Regions from separate parts of the Homo sapiens genome. Here region 2 is linked to region 1. The links are contacts of gene promoters, found by promoter capture Hi-C in blood cells and fetal thymus (Javierre and others, 2016). All regions are on one chromosome and are shown on one strand. The core of a region is centred on a gene start or on the middle of the fragment in contact, and the rest is flanking DNA. Distances in the headings are between cores, read along the strand shown. Region 1 holds the start of FAM9C (family with sequence similarity 9 member C). Region 2 has its middle 7.2 kb from the start of TCEANC.

Evidence for each region. The method cuts DNA at HindIII sites, captures the fragments that hold promoters and counts their contacts. A CHiCAGO score of 5 or more calls a contact.
Region 2: a contact is called between a fragment that was not itself captured here and the fragment with the promoter of FAM9C in region 1, in 1 of 17 cell types (non-activated CD4 T cells). The highest score is 5.5, in non-activated CD4 T cells.

The regions. Positions count from the first base shown.
Region 1 is chrX:13,042,756-13,046,616 of GRCh38, forward strand. It overlaps FAM9C (family with sequence similarity 9 member C), which reads right to left and starts at 1,865. Exons shown (of 8, transcript NM_174901.6): 1 at 1,785-1,865; 2 at 974-1,102; 3 at 373-493; 4 at 163-194. The coding sequence starts at 1,034. It overlaps LOC105373133 (a long non-coding RNA gene), which reads left to right and starts at 1,978. Exons shown (of 4, transcript NR_171577.1): 1 at 1,978-2,094. The HindIII fragment of the contact is 8,868 bases long and covers 603-3,861 here.
Region 2 is chrX:13,643,999-13,647,859 of GRCh38, forward strand. No RefSeq gene overlaps it. Among named protein-coding and RNA genes, the nearest start is that of TCEANC, 7.2 kb to the right of the region's middle. The HindIII fragment of the contact is 5,934 bases long and covers 1-3,861 here.

The DNA of each region.
Region 1 (3,861 bases), core at 615-3,114:
AAAAGTAAGTAAGAAAAATTATTAAACAGATTACATTAAATGCTATATATGAGAAGAAGGCATTTAAGACAGTCTTGTCATCCACTAATTCATATAACCTACTGTAAGGGTTGTATGGTTGAAAACAATTTTCATAAACCACAAATAGCTCGTAAAACATACCTGCAATATCTTCTAGCTCCTTGGTATCAACCCTGTAACAAAAAGTTGCAACACAATTTTAACATAATGCTACACAAAAGGCCTTGTTTGTTGGGAAGAAATGTCTTGTGTGAAATGTTCTGCATAGAACATAACAGTGATGACATGATCCAAAGCTGACTTTTCCTAAAAGACCTTATCTGACAGGCAAAAGGGACTTAAACACTTTACCCCGTGTGTTCATCTGTTTCAGCAAAAGATCCTCTTTCCCCATGCTCATCAGTTACATCTCCCTCCTTTGTCTCTGTAACAGGTTTTCTTTCCTCATGCTCATGACTTACTGGATCCTTTCCTGCATTAAAATAAAAAAGACAAACCTTTTTTAGAGGAAGACGCTGTTGTGGACATTTTTCATAGAGAAACGTACTATTTGTAGACTTTTTTGGCTCTCCGCCAATTAAAGCTTTACCGCAGAGCTATACATGGAATCGCCGGCTCCTAACCATTTTACGGAGGCATTTTTGGAAGCCCTTCGGGTTCAAGTCCCAGTAAACAACGTTCACAGGTCAGATCCCTTGGATGTCAGGACCGCATCCATGGAGAAGAGCTGCTCTGAGAGCATCTGTAACCCTGCTATGAGGGGGAGCCTCCCACGGGAAGCCTAAGGCCCTTGAGCCTGCTTTGAAAACCTGGGGCATCTCAGCACATGCACGGTGAGCTCCAAAGCCACGAAGGGGCCGGGGGCCTCGGGCTGCCCATGTGCGCCCCGCCCAGAAAGCAGACAGACTGTTGGGCGTGCACCTTCTTCTAGGTCCCCTTGGGCTGTGTTTACCTGCAAGCTCCATTTCCTGGGCGGCCATAACTTGAACCTCCAACTGGTCCTTGGCAGCCATCCTGCTGCCCTTCCTGCCCACGGGCTCCGTGGCTGACTGGCCTGGGAAGCTAGAGGCGACCTCTGAACCTGGTGAGTGCAAAGACACACTAAGGACACTAAGGAAACGAGGCGTGTTAAATGAAAATCATCAGGATCGCAGGTTCAAGGGCGCCCCGGGTCTCCCGTGGGAGCAGGAGGGGACGCGGAGAAGATGCCATCATCCCCTCCTGTCCTGGCCCGTCCAGCGCTTCCCCGGGGCTGGCTGCAGAGCTCGCAGAATTCCGCGGCCTCTGCGGGATTCTTGCAGTGCCCTTGGGACAGAGCCTGGCCCTGCCCCTGGGTTCCCCAGCGACCCAGTGGAGTCGGGAGGGCCGCGGGGTGACACAGGATCTCCCCAGCCATCTCCATGGGAATGAGCCGGTACGCACCTGTTTCTGACAGGGGCAGGGACTGCCCATTCGCCAGCCTGGACGCCCAGGGGACCCCTGGTGACCCCAAGTATCCCGTCCTGATGGGCAGCCAGACAAGACGGACCCACGTTGACCCCCCGACCCCCCCCCAAACGCTGCACACATGCACAGGCCTCCGGGACCCTCCTGGGTCCTGGGGACCACTCAGGCAGCTCCAACTCCCTGCCCTGACCCAGGCCCCAGGCGACAATGCCTGGGCCATTTCCTCACAGATCAGCCTGGCTGCCCCGCCCTTCACACCCTCTTCCCCAAAGGGCCTCTGGCCCGCCTTCCCCGCATCCCCACCGAGGGCGTCTCACCTGAGGGAGCCCTGATGTTGCTCCCTCAGAGGACCTGCAGAGGCTGGCACCGCGAAGCTCCTCCGAGGGCCTGGGTCCTCTGTTCTCACGAGAGCAGCAGCCGCCCCGGCTGCCCGCGCTCCTCGCTGATTGGTCGGCCCAGTGCGCATGCAGGTGGCGGGCGGCATGGGGCCACGCCCCCTGCAGGCACACCCTCCCCCTCACGGACTGTCCATGGCTGCTGTGGACTCATTGGGTGGCTCTCTGAGGCCTCTGTCCCCACGATATTCCAGCTCCTCATCCTGGTGAAGGAAGCAAGGACTCGGGAGTGGTGAGTGCCAGGGGACCCTGCCCTAAGGAATGGAGGCCAAGTGAACGGGGCCTAGGACCTTGCCCCCAGGCTCGTTCCAGCCACTCCTGCCCCTTTGGGTGGAATGGCCATCACCCTGCGGGTGGAGCCCAGGCTCCCTCCCATGTCCTGTGTGCTTCCAACACGCCCAGCTGCATCCTTTTTATCAATGGATTGTGCTTTTATGTTTTATCTAAGAAAATTGTTGACTCCCAGCAGGGGCAGGTAGTTTTCTCCTATCCTACTCCATTCCCTCACACTGGGCATTGCATGATTCTGCAGTGGATATACAAAGTTAAAGACTTTATGTCTAGATTTCTCATGATGTGGTCATTTCTTTTCTTTCATTTTTCTTTTTTCTTTTTTTTTTTTTTTTTGACAGGGTCTTGCTCTGTCACCCAGGCTGGGCTGCAATGGTGTAATCACTACTCACTGTAGCCTCAACTGCCCGCGCTCAAGGGATCCTCCCACCACAGCCTCCCAAGTAGCTGGGACTACAGGCATGTCCCACCATGCCCAGCTAATTTTATTTTATTTATTTATTTATTTTTAGAGACAGAGTCTTACTCTGTCCCCAGGCTGGAGTGCAGTGGCACGATCTCGGCTTCCTGCAACCTCTGCCTCCCTGGTTCAAGCAATTCTCCTGCCTCAGCCTCCCAAGTAGCTGGGACTATAGGCGCACGCCGCCACGCCTGGCTGATTTTTTTTTTTTTTTTTTTGTATTTTAGTAGAGACAGGGTTTCACCGTGTTGCCCAGGCTGGTCTCGAACTCCTGAGCTCAGTCAGTCTGCCCGCCTCAGCCTCCCAAAGTGCTAGGATTACAGGCATGAACCACCGCTCCTGGCCAATTTTGTTTATTTTTTGCAGAGATGAGGTCTCACTATGTTGCCCAGGCTGGTCTGCAACTCCTGGGCTCAAGCGATCCGCCCGCCTCAGCCTCCTAAAGTGCTGGGGTTACAGGCTTGAGCCATCGTGCCCAGCCCGATTATTTCCACAGCTGGGTTGGAAGCCATCTTTCCCTGACAAGGCAGCTCACCTTTATATCTAAGAGTTCTCTATAACCTAAAGAGAATCCCTAATTACTGACACTAAATACCACCAGCTGTCCCCATTTCCCCACAATCTACTTGGTACCCAAATTAGCCAATGAGACATCTTGGGGAATTTTAAGCCATGATTGCTTCAGGTTTCTCTCTCTTTCGAGCTTAAGATGTGTAACATTAAGAAAGAAGACAAATCTTGCAGAGGGCTTTGTGCAACCAGTCTTACAGCTTTCTATCCCATCTGGATCAATGTAATTTTCATATGCTTCATCAAAGATTTCAGCTGAAAGTACTATACCAGGTTCTGTCTATAATTGGAAACACATACACACATACACCAACTACTGGTATTCAGCTAAGAATTCAATGCTGGCTCATTTTTCTTTAAAAGAATGTCAAATCAAGGAACAATTCTCCATCACAAAGTGGAATTTGATGTCAGGTGAAGACAAATGGGGATTACAGAGCTACTTCTTTGGCATAACAGCCTAGAAACAAACTGAAAAGGATTCTGCAATTTTAAATAGGCACAAAGACATTCTTTTCAGAACACCAAGTGTCCAAGTTACAAAACCCTGAAGAAATTCTTTTAAACTTTGGATGGAGCAATTTATCTCTTTTTCCCAACTGGAGTATTTGTGAGATGTCTCCCAGAAAGAAACAACTCAATACACAAATCATTAAGCCTTTGTAAAGGGAGGAAGTC
Region 2 (3,861 bases), core at 874-3,373, 600 kb after region 1:
TTGATAATCTCCTCTAAAAGTGGTTATTTTTTTTTTGAGTCGAATGGGCTTGTCTCTTGGAACAATTAACGTGTTTTGGAAACCTGACAGGATGAATTGGATAATGACTATTTAGCATAATTTCGGGTAAAGGCAGTTCTCATGGAAGGTGGAAAGCTATCAGCCTGACAATCTAAAGCACCGATAGTTTCTCCCCAAGAAGGAATAGGGGGTAGAGGTAGTGGCTAGACACATTTCTATTTTTAAAACTGGCTTTTATTGAATGTTGGTGAATTTATCTCAGTACATTGATTTTAATTGGGATACAAAAAAAACTCCTTTGACAAGTCTGAGGCCCTCTAAAAATGTCAAAAAGGCTTAGACTGGGTCAACATCTAAAAAACCAACGTAAATGAACTCAACCTTTTTTCTCTTTAATTCCATCAGACCATGACTACAGATACTAAATAGCTGTGTTCTGTCTCTATTCAAAGTGTTGTCCTGGAGTTGTGTAGATGCAGCTTCATCATTCTGTCTGGTCAAGGAATGGTAAGGTAATATGAACTTTGGGATTTTTGTACATACAAGCAAGGGTCCTTTTTGTGTGTGGAGAATGGGGTTCTAGGTTGACCTTTTTAGAAATCTGGCATTTTTAAATGTCATATCTATGCTTCATAAAAAATTCTAGTATTAATATGCACATGAAAAAAATCTGTAAAATGATTTATAGATGTAAAATAGACTTACATCTTGGGAGGCAGTAGTATAGACTTACATCTTGGGAGGCAGTAGTATAGACTTACATCTTGGGAGGCAGTAGTATGGTGTGGTGGTGAGTCTGCCTGGGGCCAGAAAGAGCTGCCCCTAAGTGGGCTTAAGACAGAAAGGTTACATATGCATAAGATAGAGGGGTTACATATGCATATTTTTGACCAAAATAATTATCTTGTGTATATCTTTAATCAATTTGGTAGTGTCATATAAATTGTTTTACATTTCTATGTTGTCTTATTTGTTTGTTTGGTTTGGTTTCCTCCACTCTGTGGCCACTAAGAGTGCTGAATGTCATTAGGTAAGAGCTAATTACCCTTTCTTTCTCAATAATTTCTTTGACGGCCTATATATTTATTTTAATGACAATGTTGCTCAAAACACATTTGAAATTGCCTTTTTCAGGTACACAAATCATACAAGAGACTTGGCATTGTCAATTTATGGTTAAAATTTTTGGTCATCATTTATGACCAAAAATAGCATTACCAACCCAGAATTCCACTGCTAGGTATATACCTAATAGAAATGAATAGTAGCACTATTTGTATTAGTCCCAGTGGAACAACCCAAATATCCATAATGTCCATTGTTAGAATGGATGCACTGTAGTGTATTCATTCAATAAAGGACTATGAAGACATGAGAATGAATAGCTTAACGCTGCCCACAGCAACACAGACAAATTTCAAAAATATGTAATTGATCAAAAGAAGCCAGAAAGTACATACTGTACACTTCCATTTACTTAAGTTTCAAAATCAGGCAAAATTAATCTATAGCGGTAAAGTTGGGATTCTGTTTATGCTTTTACCCGTGGTGGGGGCGGGATGCTGGAAGGGAACACAAGGGGAGAATTTCTGGGGGGCTGGTAATTCTGCTTCATGGTGCCTTTTGAATGGACATGTTCACTGTGAAAATTAACAAGCAGTACACTTACGATTTGTACACTGACTTTTCTATATATGTGTCATACTTCAGTAAGAACTTCTTTCAAAAATAAAAGTATTACTCCCCCTACCCCTTAAGATGAACCTCTTCTGTCTGACATTGTGCTGAATGACTCGGGACACCTAGAGTGAATTCAGCTCTCAGCGCCAGGTAGGTTGTGGCTGAAGCTACACAGACTCAGGTATAATCCAGCCACGGATGACTTTTGTTGTGGGTGTTCACTGGCCTGCCATCCAGGCTGCTGGAGGTGAATGGCATGGGAATCTGGAGAGGAAGTTCAACGGGCCCAGGGGCTGAAGTTTGAGGAAATATTCCTGCTGCTCAAGAGCCTGGAACTCTCACCTGCCCCACATCTATTAGTCTTTCTGGACAATGATGGAAGTTTCTACGTCTCCCTTTTCTATCCCTGTTACTTCTTTTAAAAGTCTTTTTCCTCCTAGGATTAGTCCAGGCTATCCTCACCCAGCTCTCCTGATGAATGTGAACGGCTTTCCACTTGCATCAGTTTTTTGGAGTCTTCTCTCAGAGTTCCAGCAGTGCCCCCTTGTGACTGCATGTGTGTGGCTGCCACCAGGCAAACAGCAGAGCTGTTTCCAGGATCTCCTCCTACTCCCTCTTTGCTCCATTTCTTCTCCTCCCTGGTGTTTTATGAACTCATGCTTCTTTCTGGGTACCCAGAACCTTCCAATTCAGTCACCCTTAAGATCTCGAAGAATCCAATCTTGCAGACCTTTCATTCCCTCCCAATTCTCCCCATCAACATTTACTTATCCTATGTCCCATTCCATTGGTCTCTGACAAGGGAGACGATCCTTACAATATAACTCAGGCATAGCAAATAAACAGCTTCAAGTGTAACCTTTCCTAAGTAATAGTTGCTGTTTTATAATAGCAGCTTTCAATGTCTTCATCCAAAGGAATGAGTAAGAAAGGAATTCTAGCACCATGGTAAGGTCAGGGGTTCTCTTCTGATGTCCCTCAAATCACACAGCCATATTAAGACAGGCTGTGTCAGTTAGTGTTTACTGTTAGCAAGCCACCAAAACAGACCCAGCAGAGGGAAGTTATAGTAAGGATAGCAGGAATGTACAGGTGGAGGGAGAGACCAGCCAGCCAGCTTTGGAAATGGGCCGCTGGGCTAGAAGCAGAACTGTGGGAAAGGAGCCATTGGAGGAATGGTCTCATAAGGACACCACCCTCATCTTAATGATCTTTCACCATGTTTAGACTCCACATCATTCTGCTTAAAATTCACATTCCAGGGAGGATGTGCAATCGGGCCAGCTGGGGTCATCTGGCTGCCACCTGGCTAGGGCAGAATAGGCACCTGATTGGCTGTTTGGAAGGTGTGCTGAAGCTGGGTGGTCCAAACTCACCAAAGCCCACCATGTGAATGAACCCCATCATGCAAATCTGAGATCGAGTACATGTAATTATCCCAGGCCACATACCAGTGTAATAGATCTACTCTCATAACGACAAAAGAGTTGACAACTTCATTCTCTTCAGCAACCAGAAACCTAGGTGGGGTCTGAGTCAAGGTTTGAAATGAAGAACAACTAATATAAACATTATTGCCAGGCACAGTGGCTCACGCCTGTAATCCCAGCACTTTGGGAGGCCGAGGCAGGTGGATCACTTGAGATCAGGAGTTCCAGACCAGCCTGGCCAACATGGTGAAACCCTATCTCTACTAAAAATACCAAAAAAATCAGCCTGGTGTGGTGGCACCTGCCTGTAATCCCAGCTACTCGAGAGGCTGAGGCAGGAGAATTGCTTGAACCCAGGAGGCAGAGGTTGCGGTGAGCCAAGATCACGCCACTGCACTCCAGCCTGGGTGACAGAGTGAGACTCTGTCTCAAAAATAAATGACTAAAATTTTTTTTAAAAAAAACATTATTATATGAGCCAAATAGTGCAGCAACTCCATGTACTAGGTTTTTGTGAGAAAATGAGGCTGAAATGGCAAAGCGCTTCTCTTGGGCACTGTAAATCAGAACGGTATACTTCTGGCCAAATGTGTCTCCCACTGAAGACTAAGAAGAGAACATGGCTGTCCTTTATATTGTCACTGTTGATAAATAGGCCCTCCTGGCAGCATGCCAGGTCATATCATGAAAGGACAGCTGTGGGTGGTGTGTATAGTGTCAGTCCATGAGA